Linked DNA regions of Homo sapiens: all the other regions are linked to region 4. Evidence: promoter capture Hi-C in 16 types of primary human blood cells and fetal thymus (Javierre and others, 2016). All regions are on one chromosome and are shown on one strand. The core of a region is centred on a gene start or on the middle of the fragment in contact, and the rest is flanking DNA. Distances in the headings are between cores, read along the strand shown. Region 1 overlaps FERMT1 (FERM domain containing kindlin 1). Region 2 overlaps SHLD1 (shieldin complex subunit 1). Region 3 has its middle 23 kb from the start of SHLD1. Region 4 holds the start of TRMT6 (tRNA methyltransferase 6 non-catalytic subunit). Region 5 overlaps SHLD1 (shieldin complex subunit 1). Region 6 overlaps SHLD1 (shieldin complex subunit 1). Region 7 overlaps LOC105372514 (a long non-coding RNA gene).

Region 1 (3,359 bases), core at 793-3,292, 130 kb after region 4:
GGTGAGTAGAGATTGAGAAGAGGAATGCTTTAAGAACTGAGGCCTGGCTGGGTGCAGTGATTCACATCTGAAATCCCAGCACTCTGGGAGGCCGAGGCAAGGGGATTACTTGAAGCCAAGAGATTGAGAGCAGCCTGGGTAACACAGTGAGATCCCATCTCCTAAAAGAAAGTTAGCTAGGTGTGGTGGCTCACAAGTCGCAGCTACTTGGGAGGCTGGGGTGAGAGGATCACATGAGCCCAGGAGTTTGAGGTTATAGTGAGCCATGATTGTGCCACTGTGACAGAGTGAGATCCTGCCTCTAATTAAAAAAAAAAAAAACCAAAAAACTGAGGACTGTGCACTCTGGTATTATAAGAGATTGGAAAGATGAGAAAGAACCAGCCAAGGAGACCAAAAGAACTGGTCAGTGAGGGAGGAGAAAAGCCAGGAAAGTCAGCTGTGTTGGAAGGCAAGTGATGCAAGTTGGCAAAGGGTAAGGGGTGACTCATTGTGTCAAATGCTGCGGAGAGGGTAGCTGGTGCAAGGACTGAGAGGCGACCAATGGACTCAGCAATGTGAAGGTCATGGGTGGCCAAGAGGTGACCTTGATGACAGAAAGTAGCAGGGGCAGTGGGGTAGGGAGGGAGAGAAAACCTAACTGGAGTGGTTTCAAGAGAGAATGGAAGCAAGGAATTGGAGGTAGTAGGTACGTACAATACATTCAAGAAGTTTTACTGCAAATTAGGGCAGAGCTTGGGGAGAGCAGCTGGAGGGGGTTGCAAGAAGGGGAAACTGATGTGAAAAATGATGCTGCAGGAGACAGAAAAGCATAATTTTAAAAGAATTCCTAGCTGAATATGTCACTTTTCACATCATTCTTATCTTCTGCATGTCACCCTTGGTTAAAATTTACTCCCCTGTTCTGGAATGTTTTCCACATTATTCCTTCATTTCACCACCTTAATGCTTAATATCACAAATTAACCCACTTCTTACTCCACCCGCTTCTCTCTAACCTATGGGAGTTCCCTGGGCTGCTCTCCATCATCCAGGGAGCGGTGAAGCAAGGACCTAGGTCTCTCGGGTGTGGGCAGATCCCGATTCCGCCAGACATCCTACACACAGCATGGCTGCTCCAGGCTTTGACTCTGACTGACCTTGGAAAAAGCAGATCTTCGCTACACCTGGGCCCACTGCCTCAAAGCCTCACCTCCATAAACAGGTGTTAGAGATAGAGGGAGGTGCAGGGGGAAGTAGCTGGTAAAGGAGGAGTTGTCACCGGAAAGTTGTTCAGGCCCACACCACGCTTCACCACGTATCAGGCACTTTGCTTGCAGGCTGCACTGGATTCTCTCAACACAGTAGGTTCGGAGAGCCCACTGGACACATGGAGAAGCTGCGCTTGGGGAGCGCAGCAAAAATGCCCGGGTCACAGAGCTAGCAGAGGCAGAGGTGAGACTGAAAGCTGGGCCTGGTCAGTTCAAGTATTTATGTGGTTTTCACTATGCGGGGTTGACTTCAGGGTTACAGGTGAGTGTGTGTGTGTCCGCACATGGACACATATGCGCGCACATAGTGGGTATCCAGTACGACTCCGCGCTTCCTCACTCCTTTGTTGGGGTAAGTAAAGCAGAAGGAGTTGCTTGTTTGGGACAAACGTTGGGGACTGATATTCAATGAGATATTTCAGTGAATAGGAAAGTCTGTTTTTTCTGTTGTTTTGTTTTTGTTTTAGAGACAGTCTCACTGTGTCGCCTAGGCTGGAGGGCAGTGGCGCGATCTCAGCTCACTGCAACCTCCACCTCCCAGGTTCAAGTAATTCTAGTGCCTCAGCCTCCTGAGTAGCTGGGACTACAGCTGCACACCACCACGCCCAGCTAATTTTTTTTTGTATTTTTAGTAGAGATGGGGTTTTGCTACGTTGCCCAGAGTGGTCTTGAACTCTTGAGCTCAGGCAATCCGTCCACTTTGGCCTCCCAAAGTGCTAGGATTACAGGCGTGAGCCACCGCGCCCAGCTGGAAAGTCTGAATAGACTCCCCTGTTAGAAGTAATGGAGGAATGGAGTCTTTGGAAAGGGCCAAGAAAACAAAAACTGCCAATGATTAAAAATACAAACCAATTATCCCACCCCGAAATTATAAGATGAGAAAGTGACAGTACTTGCTGTACTGTAGGATTGGGGGTAGATTTTGCTTAAGCATCAGTCTCCTTTTCTGAACTGAAGAATGTAATTTGATTTACAAGCATGCTTGTGGATATGTTTTGGGAAACCATCCATTGTATACAGTGGGGCAGAGCCATAGTGCTAGGCGGGGATAACAAATGAGGATGCAGGGCTTTATGCCAAGTGTGCCCTGGACTGGGGGTGAACTTGGACAAGTCACTTAAGCTGTCTTTCTGGGGGCAATAGATGGGCCTCCTATGCATCCTTCAGACCCAGAAATCTTCAGAGACCAGTGAGAACAGGGTTGCTACCTGATAAACCTGGGTAGAAATAAGACAGAGCTTGCGGGGACCTCTCTAAAAACCTAACAATTCTGCAAAGCCACACCACGAGACACTATGAGACACAAAAAGGAGGAAGCTGACATGAAAGAAAGTCGTAGCCAGGTGTGGTGGCTCATGCCTGTAAACCCAGCACTTTGGGAGGCTGAGGTGGGAGGATTGCTTGAGATCAGGAGTTCGAGACCAGCCTGGGCGGCAAAATGAGACACCCCCCCCCCCGGCCACCCTCCCCACACCCGATCTCTTAAAAAAAAAAAACAAAAAAAAAAAAACCGAAAAGAAGTTACAGATTTCATAAAATCAATATGTGATGTTTACCCTCTGGTTTTGGAAATGTAGTTATCCTAAAAAAAACCCTCCTTTTAAAATTTCCTTTCCCACATTTAGCTGAGTTTCAGGGGTATTGGAACTTAGAACAGAAGGTATGGAAAATGTTTATGAGCAGCCCAAAGTGTCAGGACTATTTATAAAAGGGCAATATTCTCAAATAAAAAGCATTCTATATTCTATGCTAAATGAGAAAACTGGGGCTCCCCAAAAGCCACTTAAAATTGAATGGAAAGTGTGAGAAACAAGTGAACATTGTAATCACCTGACAAGGTAGTAGGTGAGGCCAAACTCAGGCAGTGACTGCCACGCCTGGATGAACCGCAGCTTGGCTTCGACCAGGGGCATCTGGGCCACGTTCTGGTGCGCCTCCAGGATCCGGGCGGCCAGCTGAACAGAAACAGACATCAACCTCTCTTCACATGCACCGGCTGCTCTGTGATCACCCTGTTAGCTCCAGATCCCCCATAAGAACAATACACTCAAGGTCCGTCTGCAGCTCTACAAAGACAATCCATTCTCATCCATTCATTCTCTCTCTTTT
Region 2 (3,376 bases), core at 212-2,711, 180 kb before region 4:
GCCAACATGGTGAAACCCTGTCTCTACTAAAAATACAAAAATTAGCCAGGTGTGGTGGCGGGCGCCTGTAATACCAGCTACTCGGGAGGCTGAAGCAGGAGAATCGCTTGAACCCGGAAGGTGGAGGTTGCAGTGAGCTGAGATCGTGCCACTTCACTCCAGTCTGAGCGAAAGAGCAAAACTCTGTCTCAAAACAAAAAACAAAAAACAAACAACAACAAAAAACAAATCCAAATATATATTTTTAGAAAGAACTCATTGTGGGTACTAAGCAAATGTAGGCTTTAATGATGATGAATTCAGTGATGACTACAGGTAGGATGTGTAACTGTCATTGCCTTCAAGAATTCTATGGAGAAATATGTTTGGGATTCTCTGCTGATTTTCAGGACACAGAGTAATCAGGATCAGTAAGTCTCCTGTTTAATTTAGTACCTGACTGTGTTAGTTCATTCTCACACTGCTATAAAGAGATACCTGAGACTGGGTAATTTATAGAGAAAAGAGGTTTAATTGGCTCACAGTTCTGCAGGCTGTACGGGAAGCATAGAAGCACCTGCTAGGCATCAATCAGGGCGGAAGGCAAAGGGGAAGCTGGCACTTCACATGGCTGAAGCAGGAGGAAGAAAGAGAGGGGGAAGGTGCTACACACTTTTAAACAACCAGATCTCATGGGAACTCAGCACCAAGGGGATGGTGCTGTAAACCAATTAGGAGGAACTGCCCCATGAACCAATCACCTCCCACCAGGCCCCACTTCCAACACTGGGGATGACAATTCCACATGACATTTCGGCAGGGACACAAATCCAAACCATATCACTGACCAAGAATTAGATAATTCTTTATCCTTTTCCTTTCTAGACTTAACATCTTAGTTCCTTTAACCTTCCCTTTTTTCCCTGCCATCCTGCTGCCTCTACATGACTTTCCATCCCTAAAACTGATTTTGTTCATCATCCCTGGGTAGCAACAGCATTTCTTAGAATGAGTGAATGGAGGCAGTTGAACAGAACTTTGTTTGTGTATGTATTTATTTATTTAGAGACAGGGTTTTGCTCTGTGCCTAGGCTGGAATACTGTGGTGCCATCATAGCTCACTGCAGCCTTGAACTCCTGAGCTGAAGCTATCCTCCTGCCTCAGCCTCCCAAGTAGCTGGGATTACAGGCTCACATCACCATACATGGCTTTTTTTTTTTTAATTTTTTTGTAGAGACAGGGTCTTGCTGTGTTGCCCAGGCAAGTCTCGAACTCTTGGCCTCAAGTGATCCTCCCACCATGGCCTCCCAAAGTGCTGGGATAATGGGAGTGAGCAACCATATCCAGTTTGAACAGAACTTTAGAAGTATTAGCATGTTGAAATACTTCAAGGCAATGGCTCTATTCCCTTAGGGAATTCAGTGTGGACTCAGTTTTTACTTTTTATTGCCTGTTAGTTGACTAATCTGTAGAAAAGCAACTGTTATTAATTGGAATTGGTTGACAGCTCTAAAAATAAGGAGCATGTTGAAATATTTATGTAGGGGTATTTGTTAAAAATATGGATATTCTATGCCAAAAAGGTTGTTTGGGGAACCCATGTCTAAACATGGGAAGGGGTACTCAAACGCTAAGACAACCATTTTACACGGTAGTAGTGGTGGTCGTGCTGGATTAGACAGCCTGGTTGGAATTCTGGTTCTGCTTCTTCCCCTGGTTTGACTTTGGGCGAGCCACTTAGCCCCTCTGTACCTGTCTCCTTATTTGTAAAATGGAGATGATAACAGCACCTCCTTGTTGGGGAGGTTATAAGGTTGTACAAGGTAGTGCATGAGGCATAGTGTGTGGCAGGGAGTGGACTCTCAGGAGATCCAATTCCTCATCAGCTGGGGTGCTTAGCACACTGCAGTACTGCCTGGTCAGCTCAGGATTTTTTTTTTTTTTTTTTTTTTGAGATGGAGTCTCGCTCTGTCACCCAGGCTAGAGCACAGTGGCGTGATCTTGGCTCACTGCAACCTCCACCTCCCAGGTTCAAGCAATTCTCCTGTCTCAGCCTCCCAAGTAGCTGGAATTACAGGTGAGCGCAACCACACCTGGCTAATTTTTGTGTTTTTAGTAGAGACGGGGTTCACCATGTTGGCCAGGCTGGTCTTGAACTCCTGACCTCAAGTGATCCACCCGCTGTGGTCATCCCAGGCATGAGCCACTGCTCTGGGATTACAGGCGTGAGCCACTGCGCCCAGCCAGCTCAGGCTTTTATCACAAATACCATACACTGGGTGGCTTCTCACAGCTCCAGAGGCTGGAAAGTCTAAGGTCAAGGTGCCAGCAGATTTGGTGTCTGGTGCTGTCCCTGTTCTTGATTTGTAGACAGCCACCGTCTTCCTGTGTCCTCATATGGCCTAGAGAGAGAGCCTCTTTCTCATGTCTCTTATAAGGGCACTAATGCCATCATGAGGCTTCCACCCTCAAAACTTAATTACCTCTAGCTGGGCACAGTGGCTCATGCCTGTAATCCCAGCACTTTGGGAGGCCGAGGCGGGTGCATCGCCTGAGGTCAGGGGTTCTAGACCAGCCTGGCCAACATGGTAAAACCCTGTCTCTAATAAAAATACAAAAATTAGCCGGGCGTGGTGGCAGGCGCCTGTAATCCCAGATACTCGGGGGCCTGAGGCAGGAGAATCACTTGAACCCAGGAGGTGGAGGTTGTAGTGAGCCAAGACCGCACCATTGCACTCCAGCCCCGGCAACAGAGCAAGACTCCGACTCAAAAATAATAATAATAATAAATAAGTAAGCATAAAAAAAAAGCATTCACATTGGTTTACTCATCCTACCCCATGGAAGGCTCTGGGTGTGATAATTGCTCTCTGCATACTCCACACTGCAGTGTTTTAGGGCACATTAATAGTGATCACTCCCATTTATTGAGCATTTACTACCTGTCAGGTTTTATACTGTCAGGCTCCATGCTAAATATTTCACAAACATCATCACTTTTTTTTTTTCTTTTCAAGACAGAGTCTCACTCTGTTGCCCAGGCTGAGTGCAGTGGCACAATCTCGGCTCACTGCAACCTCCACCTCCCTGGTTAAAGCAATTCTCCTGCCTCAGCCTCCTGAGTAGCTGGGATTACAGGCGTGCACCACCATGCCCAGCTAATATTTATATTTTTAGTAGAGATGAGGTTTCACCATGTTGGCAAGGCTGGTCTTGAACTCCTGACCTCAAGTGATCCACCTGCCTCAGCCTCCCAAAGTGTTGGGATTACAGGTGTGAGCCACCACACCCAGCCCAAACATCACCACTTTTAATTCTTATCACATACCTGAGAAGTGGAAATCATTCCCATTTAATAAGTGAGGAAACAAACTTGGAAAAGTTAGGAAACTTTCC
Region 3 (3,323 bases), core at 751-3,250, 220 kb before region 4:
ACCTGAGGTCAAGAGTTCGAGACTAGTCTGGCCAACATGGTGAAACCCCGTTTCTACTAAAAATATGAAAATTAGCTGAGCATGGTGGTGGACACCTGTAATCTCAGCTACTCCAGAGGCTGAGGCTGGAGAATCGCTTGAACCCGGGAGGTGGAAGTTGCAGTGAGCCGAGATCGTACCACTTTACTCTAGCCTGGGTGAAAAAGCGAGATTCTTTCTCAAAAAAAAAAAAAAAAAAAAAAAAAAGATGAGATGAATTGTCTTGGAGGAAGAAAGAAAGAAGGAAAGGCCAGCTTTGAATTTCTGAATTAGATTAATGGGGTTGAGACTTTTTTTTTTTTTTAATTTTAACAAACAAGCTTGGGCTGGGTGGGATGGCTCATGCCTGTAATCCCAGCACTTTGGGAGGCCAAGGCAGGAGACTGCTTAAGTCCAGGAGTTCAAGACCAGCCTAGGCAACATGGTGAAAGCCTGTCTCTACAAAAAACACAAAAATTAGCTGGGCATGATCGTGTGTACCTGTAGTCCCAGCTACTCGGAGGCTGAAGTGAGAGGATCACTTGAGCCCAGGAGGTCAAGGCTGGAGTGAGCCAAGATCATGCCACTGCATACCACTGTCTGGGTGACAGAGTGAGACTTTGTCTCAATTAAAAAAAAATTAATAAAATAAAGATTAGAAACAAGTTGGAAGCTGGGCATGGTGGTATGCACCTATAGTCCCAGCTACTTGGGAGGCTGAATGGGGAGGATCGTTTAAGACTAGGAGTTCTTAGCCAGCCTGGGCAATTTGAGATCCTGTCTCTAAAAAACATAAAGATTTTTTCCTTTTTTTTAGACAGAGTTTTGCTCTTGTTGCCCAGGCTGGAGTGCAATGGCAGGATCTTGGCTTGCTACAACCTCCACCTCCCAGGTTCAAGCTATTCTCCTGCCTCAGCCTGCCGAGTAGCTGGGATTACAGGCGCCTGCCACCACACCCGGCTAATTTTTGTATTTTTAGTAGAGACAGAGTTTCACCATGTTGGCCAGGCTGGTCTTGAACTCCTGACCTCAGGTGAGGTCCACTCACCTTGGCCTTCCAAAGTGCTGGGATTACAGGCATGAGCCACCGTGCCCAGCTGATTTTTTTAAAGGAAAGAAAAGAAACAAGGTGGGGGAAAAATGTGGTAAGTTGCAGACATCTTGCTATGGTTATTGTGTTTGCAGATAAGAATACCCACTATCAGCCGGGTACAATGGCTCACGCCTGTAATCTCAGCACTTTGGGAGGCCAAGGTGGGCAGATCACGAGGTCAAGAGATCGAGACCATCCTGGCTAACATGGTGAAACCCCGTCTCTACTAAAAATACAAAAATTAGCTAGGCATGGTGGTGTGTGCCTGTAGTCCCAGCTACTTGGGAGGCTGAGGCAGGAGCATCGCTTGAACCCGGGAGGCAGAGGTTGCAGTGAGCCGAGATCATGCCACTGCACTCCACACTCCAGCCTGGCGACAGAGCAAGATTCCATCTCCAAAAATAAAAATAAAAAAAAAGAATGCCCACTATCTTTCAACATTTGTACGTACCTGAGTATTCTCATTACTATCCCTGCAGCACAAATGACTCCAAGCTTAATAGTATAAAACAGCAACCATTTTATCATGACTATGTATCTTATGGGTCAGGTCAGGAATTCAGAAAGAGCAAATCCAGGACAACTCGTCTGGACTCCACAATGCCTGGGGCCTCATTGGAAAGACTCAATCAGCAAGGAGTGACTTTGCAGGTTCTGGCTAAAATAATCTGAATGTTTGCTCACTCGCATGTTTGGCAGGGCATGGCTGAGAACTCAGCTGAGCTGTTGGCTGGGACACCAACACATGGCCTCCAGAGTGCTGCTTGGGCTTCCTCACAGCAAGGCGGCCATGTTCTAACAGTGAGTATCCCATGAGAACCTGGGGGAAGCTATACTCTTATCATCTAGCCTTGGAAGTCACGTGATATCATTTCCACCACAATCACAAACCCACCCAGATTCAAGGGGAGGGAACATAGGTCACACCTCAATGAGAGGAGTGTCAGTTGAATTATAAGAAAAGGGGAAAGGCAGATATTATTGTGGCCATCTCTGGAAAATACAAGGCGCCACACTGGGCATAAAAGACTTTTTAATGTTTCTCAGGTAGTAGAGAGGATAAAAATGACCCTAGCCTTTGAATCTGTTTGCATAGTTTGAAGAAAATTAATTACTATTCCTTTCTCTTCAGACGGGTAAAGGGGAAAGATAATCCTTTGTTTGTTAACATAGAGCCAAGATAGAGAAAGTGAGAAGTATTGGTAAACATACATACTTTGATAATAATGGATCCTCCTTGAAACTCAATAATATATTCAATCTAAGCAAAGCAGCCTAGGGAAGAAGCTTAAGAAAAGCGAATTTGGCAAAGCCAAGTGTCAATGAAGCAGGAAGTCTCTCTGCAGAATCAGCCCCAAACGAATAAGAGAATTACTGGGTTTAATGTAGTACTAATGCCTAACATCCTTTTTTCTCCCCCAGAACCAAATTTTCTGTTTGGAAGTCTTAGTACAACCACACTTTGTAACTAGCCCAAGCAGATATCTCTGCCCCAGTTTCTCCTCCTCTCTCTTCTCCTGCTTTCTCCAGCACCCAACTCTATCCAGACCCAAGGTCGATCTCAACTCCAAAAGGGTGAGTACCTCTGATGAATGGCTAAAACAGAGTGCTTTTCCACCCCACTGCATTTCCTAGAAATTTCTGCTATAAGAGGTTCCTACCATCACCTGAAAATGTATAGTATGATATAGCCCTTCCTTCTCAATTAGTTTTGGGTGTTCATAAATTACAGTACCAAAGGAATGCTCCTAATTACAATGTGATAGGTAGAATTATGGTCTTCCAAAGATATCCACATCCTAATCCCTGGGACCTGTGAATATGTTACTTTACAGGGCAAAAGAGACTTTGCAGAGGTGTTAAGTGAGTGAGAGATGGGGAGATTCTCCTAGATTTGCTGAGTGGGATCAACGTAATCACAAAGGTCCTTATAAGAGGGAGATAGGAGGGCCAGAGTCTCAGAAGAAGATGTAATAAATAAAGCAGAACTTGGGGGGTTCAGGTGCAGAGTGAGAGAGGGAGAGAGGAACAGAGACAGAGGGAAAGAAGAGAAAAGAAAGAGAGAGACTTGAAAATACACCACTGTCTTTGATGCTAAAGGAAAGAGCACAAGCCAAGGAGTGCAGACAGCCTCCTTTTTTTAATTAATTAATTCATTAATTACTTTTTTTTTTTTTTTTGAGGAGTTTCGCTCTTGTTGCCCAGGTTGGAG
Region 4 (3,442 bases), core at 578-3,077:
AAAAAAGAAGAATTTAAAAATGGTTAAAGGTTGGTGCAGGTATTACATTTCCGGACTAAAAGAAACATACCCCTCATAAAAGAAACTTTTTATCTTTACTAAATTAGTGCTTGTGCAAAAAGCTTGGTTATCACCAGCTTAGTGCTCTGGAGACTTGTTTCTTGACTATTTTATGATGCTTGCTTCACCTTAAATACCAGTCAACAGTTTGCTTAAACCAGGAGTAAAAGAATTCATCTGAAGTAAGTACTTATCAGAAATTCCAAATCTCATACTTCCCAGTCTGCAGAAAGCTGTTCTCCTGACATTGCATTCAACTTATCTCTGTCAAAAGTAATACAATAACCTAGCTCAAAAGAAACTGTGGCCAGGTGCGGTGGCTCACACCTGTAATCCCAGCACTTTGGGAGGCCGAGGCGGGTGGATCACCTGAGGTCAGGAGTTCGAGATCAGCCTGGCCAACATGGTGAAACCCCGTCTCTACTAAAAATACAAAAAAAAAAAAAAAAGATTAGCCGAGTGTGATGGTGCCAGAGTCCCAGCCACTAGGGAGGCTGAGGCAGGAGAATCGCTTGAACCTCGGAGGCAGAGGCTGCAATGAGCCGAGATTGCACTACTGCCCTAAAGCCTGGGTGACAAAGCAAGACTCCGTCTCAAAAACAAAAACACTGTGGTTGTATTTCTCAGATAAATTAATCCAAATATCCCAATAAATTTTCACCATTAATAAGCTCTTAGGACTTAACAACCTCACCAGCCCTTCCAGAAAGTTATCAAAATCCCACTTCTTTACTTCTATAAAACAGAGCGATACTAGCCAGCAGGTGCACAAACCAAACCTAATTTGGAGTTCTGAGGCCTTGAGCAAATTGCTTTTTAGCAATTTTCCCAGCGTTGAATCCTTTGGTGAGTAAAACGAGGGAAACTCAAAGTGATTCCACACTCTGTGGTGAATTGTCTCCTTCATCTATTCTGTGTATCCTGCTTGGGTAGAGAAGAGGATAGAAAGCCAGACTAGGTAGGAGACGTTTCATTTTTTGTGGGATAGATCCTGACTGGGGGATTAGGGAAGAAGGAGGATCTATGGTGGAAAAAAAGGGGGAACCTGAAGGAGACTCTGGAGACAAGGATGAGATCCTAAAGTGAAGAAAGGAGGGGGTGTCTCTGGAAAGACAGTGAAGATCCCAAGGTCCTAGGGAAAGAACTTCAGGACAGGTGATTAGGGTGTGGAGAGGGAGGCATTGGCACCCTAGGGCCAAGAATGGAATTCTGGGGAAGGAACTCTGTGGAAAGACTGAAAAGGATGCTGAAGGTGGACGGCCAGATATGAAATCATGGAGGGGGCTCCGGGAAAAACAGGAGGGTTAAGGGAGATTATGAGGTTCGAAGACGGGATCCTGGTGGAAAAGCCTTCTGTGACAGAAAGACCCGAGGAGACAACGAGGGCGGGGAATGGGGACCGAGAGAGCCAAGAATGGCACCCTGGCGGAAGAATTCTGTGGAGAAACCTGGAGGGAGGGGGTATCTACAAGGTGGGGGCGGGAGACCCCTAAAATCAGCGATCTGACTTACTTTCTCCGCTGGACTTGTACTGCTTTAAACACATCTTCACGTTTCAGCACCACGAAGTCGCCGTCGCGGATGCGGTGGTCTCCGGGATGCTGTGGTTGTGGGCCCGGCTGCTCCCCTGAGCCCTCCATGACGCTCAGCCGGTCGCCGTGCTCCACGGCGTCCCGCCCCTCCTCCTCGGTTGTCGCCACCGCCAGCCTCACTTCCCACAACCTGGCGCACTAGGAGCCCTCCGACCGGCACCGCCCCCACGTGTTGCACGCCGCTTCCGCTTTCCGGCCCAGACCTCAAGACCGCTTCCGGAAGCCTCTCGGCTTCCGTCTGGCCAAACTCCTTGATTGGCTGCACTCCGCCCCGCCCCTCTCGTCTTGCCGCTTCTTTGAGCGGAAGTTGGATCACTGAAGCGCCAAAAAAGAATTTAGGGGAAGACCTGATTTTCGCTTGAGGCATTTTTGCGGCGCTGTGCGCTACAGACACCTTCTGGAAGCTGCGGTGGGGAAACTGAGTTTCCCGAGCCGTTGAGACAGATGGGGTTCAGCACCGCGCGGGGACGACAGGAAAGCTGCGGCTGAAGAGAACTGCGGACTTGGCAGGAGTCGCCTGAGGAGCTAAGATCCCGGAGACTCTTAGCCCCGTGGTGCTTCTCTACGGGAGGGAGGGAGGGAGAATCCGGCCGGACAGATCTGCGCGTATCCTGGAGCCGGCCCAGTTGTGAACTAGGAGAGCTTTGGGACCTCTGTCCCAAGCAAGTAAGAACTTTAGCCTTAGGAGATGTAAATAAAGTAGTATTTGAAGAAGCACAGGTACCCAACTGTTTCTTTTTACTCTTTCTCCAGTCCTACTTCTTAACGTTTTTTTGAATTTGTTACTGTTCTCAGCATATTGTCTCGTTTGAGAAGGGTATGGCACGCAGCGTTGTTGAAGGAGCGCCTCAGCTTGGGAGGCTGAAAGTTTTATCTCTGTACTGTCGACAAACAACTTTGATCTTGATCGGTTTGCTTAATTTCTTTGAGCATCAGTTTCATAATGTGTAATGCCTAATTATTGGAGCCCTGTCATGCCGTTAAATCGTGAACTTTCTAGTTACTATCTTGTTTTATTAACTAAACCCCTTTTAAGTAAGGATTTGGGTAGAGTATTTGATAATGAATTGCACTGCAGCGTACAGGTATATCTTTATTTACTTGTATACTTAGGATATGAATCATTTTTAAGTAGACGTGTATTTTATAAGAACAGTTTTGGATTTACAGAAAAACTGCACAAAAAATGGATGTGACACTGCAGGATTGACTGTATGTAAGAAGCTATGATGATGTATCCCTAGTGTCTCACAGGCCAGAATTATGTTCATCCTGTCCTGCCCTATAATAAGAAGTCTCAAATACTGCAAATAAGTTTTCATAGAGTTAATTACCTGTCCTATTTTCATTTCTGTAATGGGGACTTGTAAACAGGTACAGTACCTGTCCTTATTTTTAACCTGTGAGCGTCTAGTATACGTAAACCATATTTAATAGTTATTAAACTATTATGGTATACCTTAAAAAGCGATAGAGATTAGAAACTTAACTGCAGAATATTTGGGTCTTGTATCATAGCTGTACAACTTTGCAAGCCTGTTTGCTACTCTTGAACCTAGAATACATTAATTTTTCCCTTTTTATTAATACATTTTTAAGAGCACTATTTTCCTTACAGTTTTGGTGAAGACCTTTTTAATATCTATCTTTTAGGAGAGATGAATGGAGAGTATAGAGGCAGAGGATTTGGACGAGGAAGATTTCAAAGCTGGAAAAGGGGAAGAGGTGGTGGGAACTTCTCAGGAAAATGGAGAGAAAGAGAACACAGACCTGATCTGAGTAAAACCACA
Region 5 (3,611 bases), core at 703-3,202, 130 kb before region 4:
TTACTATCTGGCCCTATACAGGAAAAGTTTGCTAACCCATGATCTATCTTCATAAGGTTCCCCATAACCACTGAAAGTCTCTTCTCAGTATTATCCCACTTTATTGGATCCTATAGCCTCTTGTCTTAGGAATTCCCATACTTAGGAATTTGTTTTTATATAAAAGAAATGAGGTCTGGGTATAGTGGCTCATGCCTGTAATCCCAGCACTTTGGGAGGCCATGATGGGCTGATTGCTTGAGGCCGGGAGTTTGAGAGCAGTCTGGCCAACATGGCAAAATCCTGTCTCTACAGAAAATACAAAAATTATCCAGGTGTGGTGGTGTGTGCCTGTAATTCCAGCTACTCCAGAGGTTGAGGCATGAGAATCACTTGAACCCAGGAGACAGAGGTTGCAGTGAGCTGAGATCACACCACTGCACTCCAGTCTGGGTGACAGAGTGAGACTCTGCCTCAAAAAAACGAAAAAAAAAAAAAAAAAAGAAAGAAAAAGAAATGGCATAAACTGGTAGAATACACAGCCCATGAATTGTTGGTCATAAAATTAACTGCAAATGTAAATATTATTTTAAAATTTCAACTCTATATTTTTTAAAAATTATTTTGTGATTTTATTGTAAATGTAGTTCCAAAAAGACACATTTTCCTTGAATGACATTTTTTTTATTTTAAGTAAAGATTGCCAGGACAGAGAGAACCAAGAGTCACTGAAGATTCCCCTTCAGAAATAGTAAAGTTCTACTGCGTATATTCGGGGTTTGCCAACAATGATTTGAAAAATAAAAGGTTGCTTTCTACTGAAATGCTGAATGAATAAATTTGGGTGCATGAGAGATTCACTGTCTGTGGGTAAACAAGGGGCAGTGTGAGTCTTAAAAAGGAAGATTGTTGAGGGCAATATCTACATTTCACAGATGAGGAAACTGAGCTTTGGAAAATGCAAGTGAAAATCTGAGGACCATAGCGAAATAGTGGCAGGACGAGAACTGGAAGTTGCTCTCCTGATTTGTTTCCAGTTCATATTTTTTCTGTGATTCTGCATTCTACTCAAGAACTAATATTATGATTAAAATGCCTGACAGTATAAAAGGACCAGTTTAAAAACTATCACAGATATTCCTATTTGTCATACATTATGTTTTCCTTTAAGACCCTGAGGATAGGCTGGGCGCAGTAGCTCACACCTGTAATCTCAGCACTTTGGGAGGCCGAGGCGGGTGGTTCACTTGAGCTCAGGAGTTCAAGACCAGCCTGGGCTACATGGCAACCCTGTCTCTACAAAAAATACCAATAAATAGCTGGGCGTGGTGGTGCCTGCCTGTAGCCCCAGTTATCTTGGGGGCTGAGGCAAGAGGATCACTTGAGCTCAGGTGATGGAGGCTACAGTGAGCCGAGATTGTGCCACTGCACTCCAGCCTGGGTGACAAAGTGAGACCCTATCTCAATAAATAAATAAAATGAAAATAAAACCTTGAGGATATTTATAATATTAGCTGCTTTCACGTCCTTGTTTGTTAATTCCATCATCTTTATCATTTCAAGATCTGTTTCTGTTGACTGATTTTTCTCCTGATTATAGGTAATATTTTCCTGCTTCTTCCCATGTCTAGTAATTATGAGATGCTGGACTTAGTGATATTACATTGTAGAGTGTCTGTATTTTGCTGCCTTTTTATAAAAAGTATCAAAGTTTGTTATGGCAGGCAGTTAAATTACTTGCTTATCAACTTGATCCTTTCAAGACTTGTTTTTAAGCTCACGGGATATTTTCTCTCTCTCTCTCTCTCTCTCTCTCTCTCTCTCTCTCTGTGTGTGTGTGTGTGTGTGTGTGTGTGTGTGTGTGTGTGTTGGGATTACAGGCGTGAGCCACTGCATCCAGCCTAAACTCACTAGGGAGATTTTTTGAATAGCCTGTACTCTGTAGCTAGTTTAGCTTGCTACCAAGGTTTAGCCTTTCTGGGTCTGTACTGAATATCCCAGGTATTCAACAGTCATCTCACTCTGGCTGTCAGAACATGCATGTCTCCCAGCCCTGTGTGAGTTCTGGAAGTTGTTCAGCTCACAGCTCCCCTGGCTGTGCCTGGCATTATGACTTAGTGTTCACTGTGAAATACTCAAAAGAATCCCTATGCTGATTTCTGGAGCTCTTTATCTGTTTAGCTCCCTCATCTCCAGGACTCAGCTTCAGAAATTCCAGGCACCTGAAACTGATCTCTGTCTCTTTGCTGAGGAAACTGCTGTGAGGCAGTGAGATTGCTGTGCTCTGTTTGGATTCCCCTTCCCTGCGCTGTGGTCTAGGAAGTGCCTCCAGCAGAACACTGGGGGCAATTGTAGGCACATCTTGCGTCCCTTCTCTCAGTGATCAAAGTCCTATACTAACTGTGACCAGGATCTGAAAGCAGTTGTTTTTTGTCCAGTTTTCTTTTCTTTTTCTCCTTTTTTTCTTTTTCTTTCTTTTTTTTATTTTTTTATTTTTTTTGAGACAGCCTTGCTCTGTTGGAGTGCAGTAGCACTATCTCGGCTCACTGCAACCTCTGCCTCCCAGGTTCAAGCGATTCTCCTGCCTCAGCCTCCCAAGTAGCTGGGATTACAGACACCTGCCACCACGCCTGGCTAAGTTTTGTATTTTTAGTAGAGATGGGGTTTCACCATGTTGGCCAGGCTGCTCTAGAACACCTGACCTTAAGTGATCCACCCGCCACAGCCTCCCAAAATACTGGGATTACAGGCGTGAGCCACTGCACCAGGCCATTTTGTCCAGTTTTATAGCCATTTATAGCAGAAGGGCAAATTTGGTATAGTTAACTCTGCCATTGCCAGAGGCTGTTCACTTAGATTTGTCTTGTAACATTTTTCTGTAGTAAGTAAAGGCAGGGATCCTGTACCCATTTTATAGGTTAAATAATGCAGAGTTGCCAAGAAATAAGAGGGTTGGAATCACATACTGGGTTGGTTGGTAGGTAGGTCATATGATCCAGGAACTCTTGGTCCTTGCAAGGAGATAGGAGGAAATGCTCAAATTTGTCTCCCCAAATGGGGGCCTGGGTTGAGGTTTATAAGCATATGGTAATGAGGCGTGAATGAGGTGACTGGATTGATCTTGGAATGAGGTGATTGATTGGATCTTACAATAAGGCGATGATGTTGGGGGTCATGATCTAACTGGAATCCACCATGGGGTGACTCCAGGGCTCAATCTGATTGGATCCTGGATCCTGCCATGCAGTGTCCACTTCTGTTTTGTTTTGTTTTGTTGAGATGGAGTCTTGCTCCATTGTCCAGGCTGGAGTGCAGTGGCATGATCTCAGCTCACTGCAACCTCTGCCTCCTGGGTTCAAGCAATTCTTGGGCCTCAGCCTCCCAAGTAGCTGGGACTACAGGTGTGCGCCATCACACCCAGCTGATTTTTGTGTTTTTAGTAGAAACAGGTTTCTCCATGTTGGCCAGGCTGGTCTTGAACCCCTGACCTCAAGTGATCTGCCCGCCTCAGCCTCCCAAAGTGCTGGGATTACAAGTGTGAGCCACCGTGCCCCGCCAGTGTCTACTTCTTAATTCAGTCCCACTCCTCGGTCTGAGCACTTAGGTTCCCCCTAGTGGAACTAAGCATGGTT
Region 6 (3,828 bases), core at 351-2,850, 160 kb before region 4:
TTGGGCACAGTGGCTTCCACCTGTAATCCTAGCACTCTGGGAGGCTGAGGCAGTAGATGGCTTGAGCCCAGGAGTTCAAGACCAGTCTGGGTAACATGGCGAAACCTCGTCTCTACAAAAAATACAAAAATTAGCTGGGTGTGATGGGGCACTCATGTAGTCCCAGCTACTTCGGGAACTGAGCTGGGAGGATCGCTATTGTCCTGGAGGTCGAGGCTGCAGTGAGCCATAATTGCACCACTGCACTCCAGCGTGGACCACAAAGCAAGACCCTGTCTCAAAAAAAAAAAAAAAAAAAAAAGGAAATGATATAAATGATAGAACTGAAAAATATAGCCAAACATTGATAAATTGGACCTCATAAAAATTAAAAACCTTTGCTTTGTGAAAGCCCATGTGAAGAGAATGAAAAGACAGGCCACAGACTGGGAGAAAATATTTGCAAATCCCATACCTGACAAAGAACTAGTTTCTACAATATGTAAAGAACTCTCAAAACTCGACTCTCAAAAAAAAATGCAGTTCACTTTTACAGGTCAATACACAATTCAGTTTCTCCACATCCTTGCCAACAACACTTGTTATTTTCTGCTTTTTTGATAGTGACCATCCTAATGGGTGTGAGGTGATATCTCACTCTGGTTTTGACTTGCACTTTTCTGATGATTGGTAACGTTGAACATATTTTCCACATGTTTATTGGCCATTTGCATACCATCTTTGAAGAAACATCTATTGAAATCCTTTGCCTATTTTTAAAATTGGGTTGATTTTTTTTGTTATTGAGTTGTAGGAGTTCTTTATGTATTCTAGATACTAACTTCTTATCAGATATGTGATTTGCAAATATTTTCTTCCTTTTTATAGATGGCCTTTTCACTCTGTTGATTATGTCCTTTGATGTGCAAAAGTTTTTGAGTTTGTCCATTTTTGCTTTTGTTTCCTGTACTTTCGGTGTCATGTCTAAGAAATCATTGCCAAGTCTAATGTCATGAAGCTTTTCCTCTGTGCTTTCTTCTAGGAGTTTTATAGTTTTAGGGCTTATGTTTAGGTCTTTAATCCATTTTTGAATTAATTTTTGTATATTGTGTAAGATAAGGTTTTGAGTTTGTTCTTTTTATCTTTTTGTTTGTTTGTTTGTTTTTGTTTTTTTGAGACAGAGTCTCACTGTATCCCTCAGGCTGAAGTACAGTGGCATGATCTCGGCTTACTGCAACCTCTGCTTCCTGGGTTCAAGCGATTCTCATGCCTCAGTCCCCCAAATAGCTGGGATTACACGTGTGTGCCACCACGCCTGGCTAATTTTTGAATTTTTAGTAGAGACAGAGTTTCACCATGTTGGCCAGGCTGGTCTCGAACTCCTGACCTCAGGTGATCTGCCGTTTTCTTTTTTTTAAAAAAAAAAAAGAAAAAGAGTCTTGGTCTGTTGCCCAGGCTGGAGTCCAGTGGCATGATCCCGGCTCACTGTAGCCTCTGGCTCCTGGGTTCAAGAGATTCATGTGCCTCAGCCTCCCGAGTAGCTGGGATTACAGGCGTGCGCCAATATGCCTGGCTGATTTTTTGTATTTTTAGTAGAGACGGGGTTTCATCATGTTGGCCAGGCTGGTCTCGAACTCCCGATGTCAAGTGATCTGCCCACCTCGGCCTCCCAAACTGCTGAGATCACAGGCATGAGCCACCACGCCTGGCCTCGACTTTGTTCTTTTGCATGTGGATATGCTGTTTTCCCCTCACCATTTGTTGGAGAGACCTTCTTTTCCCTATTGAGTAGTCTTGGCACCCTTGTCAAAGATCATTTGAGCATATACGTAAGGGTTTATTTCTGGGTCTTTGTCCTGTTCCATTGGTCCGTATGTCTGTCTTTATGACAGTGCCACACTGTTTTGATTACTGTAGCTATGTTTTGAATCAGGAAGTGTGGGTCCTCCAACTTTTTTTTTCCTCGGAATTGTTTTTGCTATTTGGAGGTCTGTATGTATTCTTTTTTGATGTACCTATAAATATATTTTAGTGTGGATAAATATGTGCATGTAAATTTATGTATTTTAGTGCATTTGTTTATGTAGAGATTTTAACAACAAAAAACCTGTAACAAAAACATGCTGTTCTGCAACTTGCCTTTTAAAATTCCACATTAGGCCAGGCACAGTGGCTCACGTTGTGGGTTTTTTTTGATGTATAGAGATTTTAGATTCCTATATAGTCAAGCTTATCAATCAATGCTTCTGCTTTAGCATAAAATTAGGAAAACCATTCTTGCTTTCCAAGATTATATAAATAGGCACCTCCATTTCTTAGTATTTTTAAAAGTTTAATTTTCAACTTTGAAGTCTTTATTTTAGGGTAAAGTATGAAACAAGATGATAGCTCTATTGTTTTCCAAATGGAAGCCAGTTGTCTCAATGTTATTTATTTAATCATTGTATTCCTTTCTCTCTGGTATTTTTTTTCTTTCACTTTTGTTGCCCAGGCTGGAGTGCAGTGACACGATCTCGGCTCACTTCAACCTTCGTCCCTGGTTCAAGTGATTCTCCTGCCTCATCCTCCTGAGTAGATGGGATTATAAGCACATGCCACCGTGCCTGGCTAATTTTTTTGTATTTTCAGTAGAGACAGGGTTTCACCATGTTGGCCAGGCTGGTCTTGAACTCCTGACTTCAGGTGATCTGCCCACATCAGCCTCCCAAAGTGCTGGGATTACAGGCCTGAGCCACCACGCCAGGCCCCTTTCTCTCTGGTTTTAGATGTTCCCCTCACTTAAAAAAAAAAATCACGTTCTACATTTTCTGATTGTTTGTTTGTTTTGGAGCCTGACTGGTCTGAGTTTTCACCTTGATTCTATAGCTAGCTAAACATGCTAGCTTTCTGACCTTGAGCAAGTGACTGCACTTCACTCTTTCTTAGTTTCCTCATCTATAAGATGAGGACAATAACACTATCTGCTTCATAGGTTGTCATGAGGATTGAGTGAGACACCTGGAGCTGAGTAGACTTAGCAAAGGCTAGCTGTCATTACCACCACTGCTGTTACAACTAGTGCTGCTACTGGGGTTGGTTTCTGGATTCACTTCTTTCTTGAGTTCCTTTCAGGAGTCTAAGACTTCCACTTCTTTATGTTGCTCAGTACGAGGCAAAAAAGTGACTTTTCCTGGGACAGGCCCCTTACAGAGAAGTTATTCGGATTAACACTGACCAAAAGTATCTATAGAATTACTTCTTAGCATTTGCTATGAAAATATATATTTTCTGCTAACTTTGGATATAATTTTAGGCAAATTATTGCATCCTGTTCTTATATAATCTCTTCATTGTGAGTGTCATGTATATTTGTCAACAGATGCCTTCTTATTTGCAAAGTGCTTTGATTTGTATTTGAAAGGTGTTCCTATGTTGTATTCTACAAATAGTCTTATGGTGAAGGATCCCTGTTAATCTGGGGTGTCTTTAAGCAAAGCCATGTTTGTGAGACTGTATTAGATACTATGTTTATTAGACGTCTAATCAGTGAAATGAATGAGACCATTTTTAAAATTGTTTTCTCTGTACCGTGCTACAGATTGAGGGTGATATAAATCAGTGAGAACACAGGATTCCTGTGCTCATGGAGTTGATCGTCTAGTTGGGAAAATAAGATATGTAAACTTATTTGTTTACATATGTAAACAAAGTGATGGCCGAGCTTGGTGGCTCACACCTGTAATCCCAGCACTTTGGGAGACCAAGGTGGGCAGATCATCTGAGGTCAGGAGTTCGGGACCAGCCTGGCCAACATGGTGAAACTCTGTCTCTACTAAAAATTCAAAAATTAGCCAGGCGTGGTGGCACACA
Region 7 (3,392 bases), core at 191-2,690, 250 kb before region 4:
TTGCTCTGGTTGCCCAGGCTGGAGTGGAATGGTGTGATTTTGGCTCACCACAACCTCCGCCTCCCAGGTTTAAGTGATTCTCCTGCCTCAGCCTCCTGAGTAGCTGGGATTACAGGCATGTGCCATCATGCCTGGCTAATTTTGTATTTTTAGTAGAGATGGGGTTTCTCCATGTTGGTCAGGCTGGTCTCGAACTCCCGACCTCAGGTGATCCACCTGCCTCATCGTCCCAAAGTGCTAGGATTATAGCCGTGATTAAAATTATTTTTTTAAAAAAGGCTGGGTGCAGTGGCACACACCTGTAATCCCAGTACTTTGGGAGGCCCAGGTGGGAGGATCACTTGAGGTCAGGAGTTTGAGATCAGCCGGGGTAACACAACGAGACTCCTGTCTCTACCAAAAAAAAAAAAAAAAAAAAAAAACAGAATCCTAACAACAATTAAAAAAAAAAGTAACCATCCTTTCTTTCTTAAATGAAGTAATAGCCCAGTTGCCTTTCCCCCTTGTATCTAGTGCTATTTAGAAAGAAATGGGAAACAAAGAGGGAGAGAAAGAGGGAGAAAGCCTAATATAATTGCACACTGACCTGCAAGGTAATTGAGATGCTTTCTCCACACTCCAAGATTTTTCCAAGGATAAAAAAACTTTCATTGTTATATTCGTGGTAAGTTTATATTTACATCAGTGTAATCACTAGCTTAAAGTGTCTGGTGGATTTTCCTGCTGGCAGCTTTGGTGAGTGAGGAACTTTATGCTCCAACAATGGAAAGCCCAAGTCTAGCTTTCCTTGCAGAGCTAAAAGAATGGGTTCCGGGAATGTCACAGCACTGACGTTTTCATTAGTCTGGAAACTTCATCACTGGAGTTGGTGGAAGTAAGATTTAAGTCTCAGATGTGACTTCTACAGTGAAAATACCAAAGAGCCTTCCTATGAATAATTAAATGGCTGTACTGAGCCAGAGCAACAGCAAAAGATAAAAAGCACCCGTTTGTCATCAGCCGGACTTAAAGGGGCTGAGTCCGGTTTTTATTCAACCTGCTTCAAGTGCAGCTGTGTCAGCCTTCACTCTTTTATTGGCAGGAAGGGAAGCTTTTGGTATCAGATGTTCTTCCACAGGAGAACTGCTTGTTTGCTTAGTGAAACTGCAATAATAAAATTAATTAAAAGCTTTTTATCATTTAGCTATAGCACAGAGGAAGTATAAATGGACATTCAAAATGGCAAGATGAGTTCAAGGCCACGTAGCAAATATACCTATAGTCAGTGTAAGGATTAAAACAATTAAGATGCTTTTGTCTTTTAATTTTTTTTTTTAAGAGAGGGTCCTGCTTTGTTGCTCAGGCTGGAGTATAGTGGTGCAATCATGACTCATTTCAGATTCAAACTCCTGTTATCGAGGGATCCTCCCACCTCAGCCTCCCAAGTAGCTGGGATTACAGGTGCACACCACCATGCCCTGCTAATTTTTGTATTTTTTTAATGCAATGGGGTCTCACTATGTTCCCCAGGCTGGTCCCAAACCCCTCGGCTCAAGTGCTCTTCCCACCTCAACCTCCCAAAGTGCTGGGATTACAGATGTGAGACTGTGCCTGACCTAAAATTCTTAAAGTGCTTAGTGCTGGCTCACAGGAAATATTACTATGCGGTAGCAATTCTTATTCCTGACCAGTTTTCTGTATTAGTTTCCTATTGCTGCTGTGACAAATTACCACAAGCTTAGTGACTTAAAACAACACAAATTTGGCCAGGTGCAGTGGCTCATGCCTGTAATCCCAGCACTTTGGGAGGCTGAGGCAGGCAGATCACAAGGTCAGGAGATCAAGACCATCCTGGCCAACATGGTGAAACCTTGTCTCTACTAAAAATACAAAAATTAGCTGGGCATAGTGATGCCTGCCTGTAGTTCCACCTTCTTGGGAGGCTGAGGCAGGAGGATTGCTTGAACCAGGAGGCGGAGGTTGCAGTGAGCCGAGATCGTGCCACTGTACTCCAGCCTGGGCAACAGAGTGAGACTCCATCTCACACACACACACACACACACACACACACACACACAAACAACAAAAAACTACAAATTTATCTTATAGCTCTGGAGTCAGATATTTCAAATGGGTCAGCAGGGCTGCATTCCTACTGGAGGCTCTAGTGGAAAATCTGTTTCCTTGCCTTTTGCAGCTTCTAGAGGCCACCTGTGTTCCTTGGTTCATAGCCCCACATCACTCTGACCTCTGTTTCCATCATCACGTCTCCTTTTCTGACTCTGATCCTCCTGCTTGGCTCCTATAAGGACCCATGTGATGACATTGTACCCACCTGGATAATTCAGAATAATCTTCCCATCTCAAATCTTTAATTTGATCACATCGGCAGTCACTTTTGTCCTGGTAAGGTAATGCCCACAGATTCTGAGGATTAGGGTGTGGTCTTGTTTGGGAAACAGGACATTACTCAGTTTACCACATCTTCTTTCAATTTCACTGCTCTAGGCTGGGCACAGTGGCTCACGCCTGTAATCCCAACACTTTGGGAGGCTGAGGCGGGCAGATTGCTTGAGTCCAGGGGTTCAAGACTAGCCTGGGCAACATGGTGTGATCTCATCTCACAGAAAAATATAAAAATTAGCTGGACATAGTGGAGTGCACCTGTGTCCCAGCTACTCTGGAGGCTGGAGTGGGAGAATTGCTTGAGCCCAGAAGGTCGAGGCTGCAGTGAACTGAGATTGTGCCACTACACTCCAGCCTGGGTGACACAGACCCTGTCTCAAAAAAAAAAAAAAAAAAAAAGAAAAGAAAATTTCTGCTCTATTTTGGCTGAAATGATAGCAGCTTCCATTGACTAGTGCTAGCCCTATGAGGGGGTTTAGAAATGACAGAAAATGCACTGGGTGTAGCAGATGCAGACCGCACTGTTATCCTTGCCCTTATTATTTCTGGGCTCCCTGGCCAGATTTTCAACTGCCCACAGTTATAACTATTTGCCTGAGGGCCTTCTGTGGCTGCCAGAGCTTAACTTGCCCCTGGGAGGCAGATGAGAAGTGTCAAGGAATTAGTCCTCCTCTCTGCCCCAAGCAGCTGTTAATCGATGGCTGATAACGACCCAACTCCCCTGCCCTTTGCTGAGAAAACTCCTAGGTGTGTGTTATACACAGTCTTCTAGAGTTCCCCAGTGGAGGCTGGGAGCAGTGGCTCATGCCTGTAACCCCAGCACTTTGGAAGGCTGAGGCGGGAGGATCGCTTAAGCCCAGGAGTTCGAGACCAGCCTGGGCAACATGGTGAGGCTCCCATCTCTATTAAACAAACAAGCAAACGAACAAAAACACAAAATTATAGAGTGCTCCCGTGGTCCGCGGTGTTGACTTGCTTGGTAATATGCCCTCTCCTCTGTGGTCTGC

What was found. Contacts are between HindIII fragments. The CHiCAGO score rates a contact against its expected background, and 5 or more counts as called.
Region 1: a fragment that was not itself captured here is called in contact with the fragment with the promoter of TRMT6 in region 4 in 2 of 17 cell types (megakaryocytes and fetal thymus); the score reaches 7.7 in megakaryocytes.
Region 2: a fragment that was not itself captured here is called in contact with the fragment with the promoter of TRMT6 in region 4 in 6 of 17 cell types (total B cells, naive CD4 T cells, total CD4 T cells and 3 more); the score reaches 7.3 in total B cells.
Region 3: a fragment that was not itself captured here is called in contact with the fragment with the promoter of TRMT6 in region 4 in 2 of 17 cell types (naive CD4 T cells and non-activated CD4 T cells); the score reaches 5.4 in naive CD4 T cells.
Region 5: a contact is called between a fragment that was not itself captured here and the fragment with the promoter of TRMT6 in region 4, in 13 of 17 cell types (naive CD4 T cells, total CD4 T cells, naive CD8 T cells and 10 more). The highest score is 10.0, in naive CD4 T cells.
Region 6: a contact is called between a fragment that was not itself captured here and the fragment with the promoter of TRMT6 in region 4, in 16 of 17 cell types (naive CD4 T cells, total B cells, naive CD8 T cells and 13 more). The highest score is 15.9, in naive CD4 T cells.
Region 7: a contact is called between a fragment that was not itself captured here and the fragment with the promoter of TRMT6 in region 4, in 1 of 17 cell types (naive CD4 T cells). The highest score is 5.4, in naive CD4 T cells.

The regions. Positions count from the first base shown.
Region 1 is chr20:6,080,960-6,084,318 of GRCh38, forward strand. FERMT1 (FERM domain containing kindlin 1) reads right to left here. Exons shown (of 15, transcript NM_017671.5): 13 at 3,081-3,205. Among named protein-coding and RNA genes, the nearest start is that of LRRN4, 29 kb to the left of the region's middle. The HindIII fragment of the contact is 8,164 bases long and covers 1-3,359 here.
Region 2 is chr20:5,774,014-5,777,389 of GRCh38, forward strand. All of the region lies in intron 2 of SHLD1 (shieldin complex subunit 1), which reads left to right. Among named protein-coding and RNA genes, the nearest start is that of SHLD1, 25 kb to the left of the region's middle. The HindIII fragment of the contact is 4,576 bases long and covers 1-3,376 here.
Region 3 is chr20:5,725,345-5,728,667 of GRCh38, forward strand. No RefSeq gene overlaps it. Among named protein-coding and RNA genes, the nearest start is that of SHLD1, 23 kb to the right of the region's middle. The HindIII fragment of the contact is 792 bases long and covers 1,605-2,396 here.
Region 4 is chr20:5,948,706-5,952,147 of GRCh38, forward strand. TRMT6 (tRNA methyltransferase 6 non-catalytic subunit) reads right to left here and starts at 1,828. Exons shown (of 11, transcript NM_015939.5): 1 at 1,573-1,828. The coding sequence starts at 1,700. MCM8 (minichromosome maintenance 8 homologous recombination repair factor) reads left to right here and starts at 1,947. Exons shown (of 19, transcript NM_032485.6): 1 at 1,947-2,318; 2 at 3,306-3,442. The coding sequence starts at 3,311. RefSeq lists an enhancer at 1,824-1,963. The HindIII fragment of the contact is 3,685 bases long and covers 121-3,442 here.
Region 5 is chr20:5,815,626-5,819,236 of GRCh38, forward strand. All of the region lies in intron 2 of SHLD1 (shieldin complex subunit 1), which reads left to right. Among named protein-coding and RNA genes, the nearest start is that of SHLD1, 67 kb to the left of the region's middle. The HindIII fragment of the contact is 6,437 bases long and covers 1-3,611 here.
Region 6 is chr20:5,791,285-5,795,112 of GRCh38, forward strand. All of the region lies in intron 2 of SHLD1 (shieldin complex subunit 1), which reads left to right. Among named protein-coding and RNA genes, the nearest start is that of SHLD1, 43 kb to the left of the region's middle. The HindIII fragment of the contact is 1,211 bases long and covers 996-2,206 here.
Region 7 is chr20:5,702,958-5,706,349 of GRCh38, forward strand. LOC105372514 (a long non-coding RNA gene) reads right to left here. Exons shown (of 3, transcript XR_937224.1): 3 at 675-1,143. Among named protein-coding and RNA genes, the nearest start is that of SHLD1, 46 kb to the right of the region's middle. The HindIII fragment of the contact is 548 bases long and covers 1,167-1,714 here.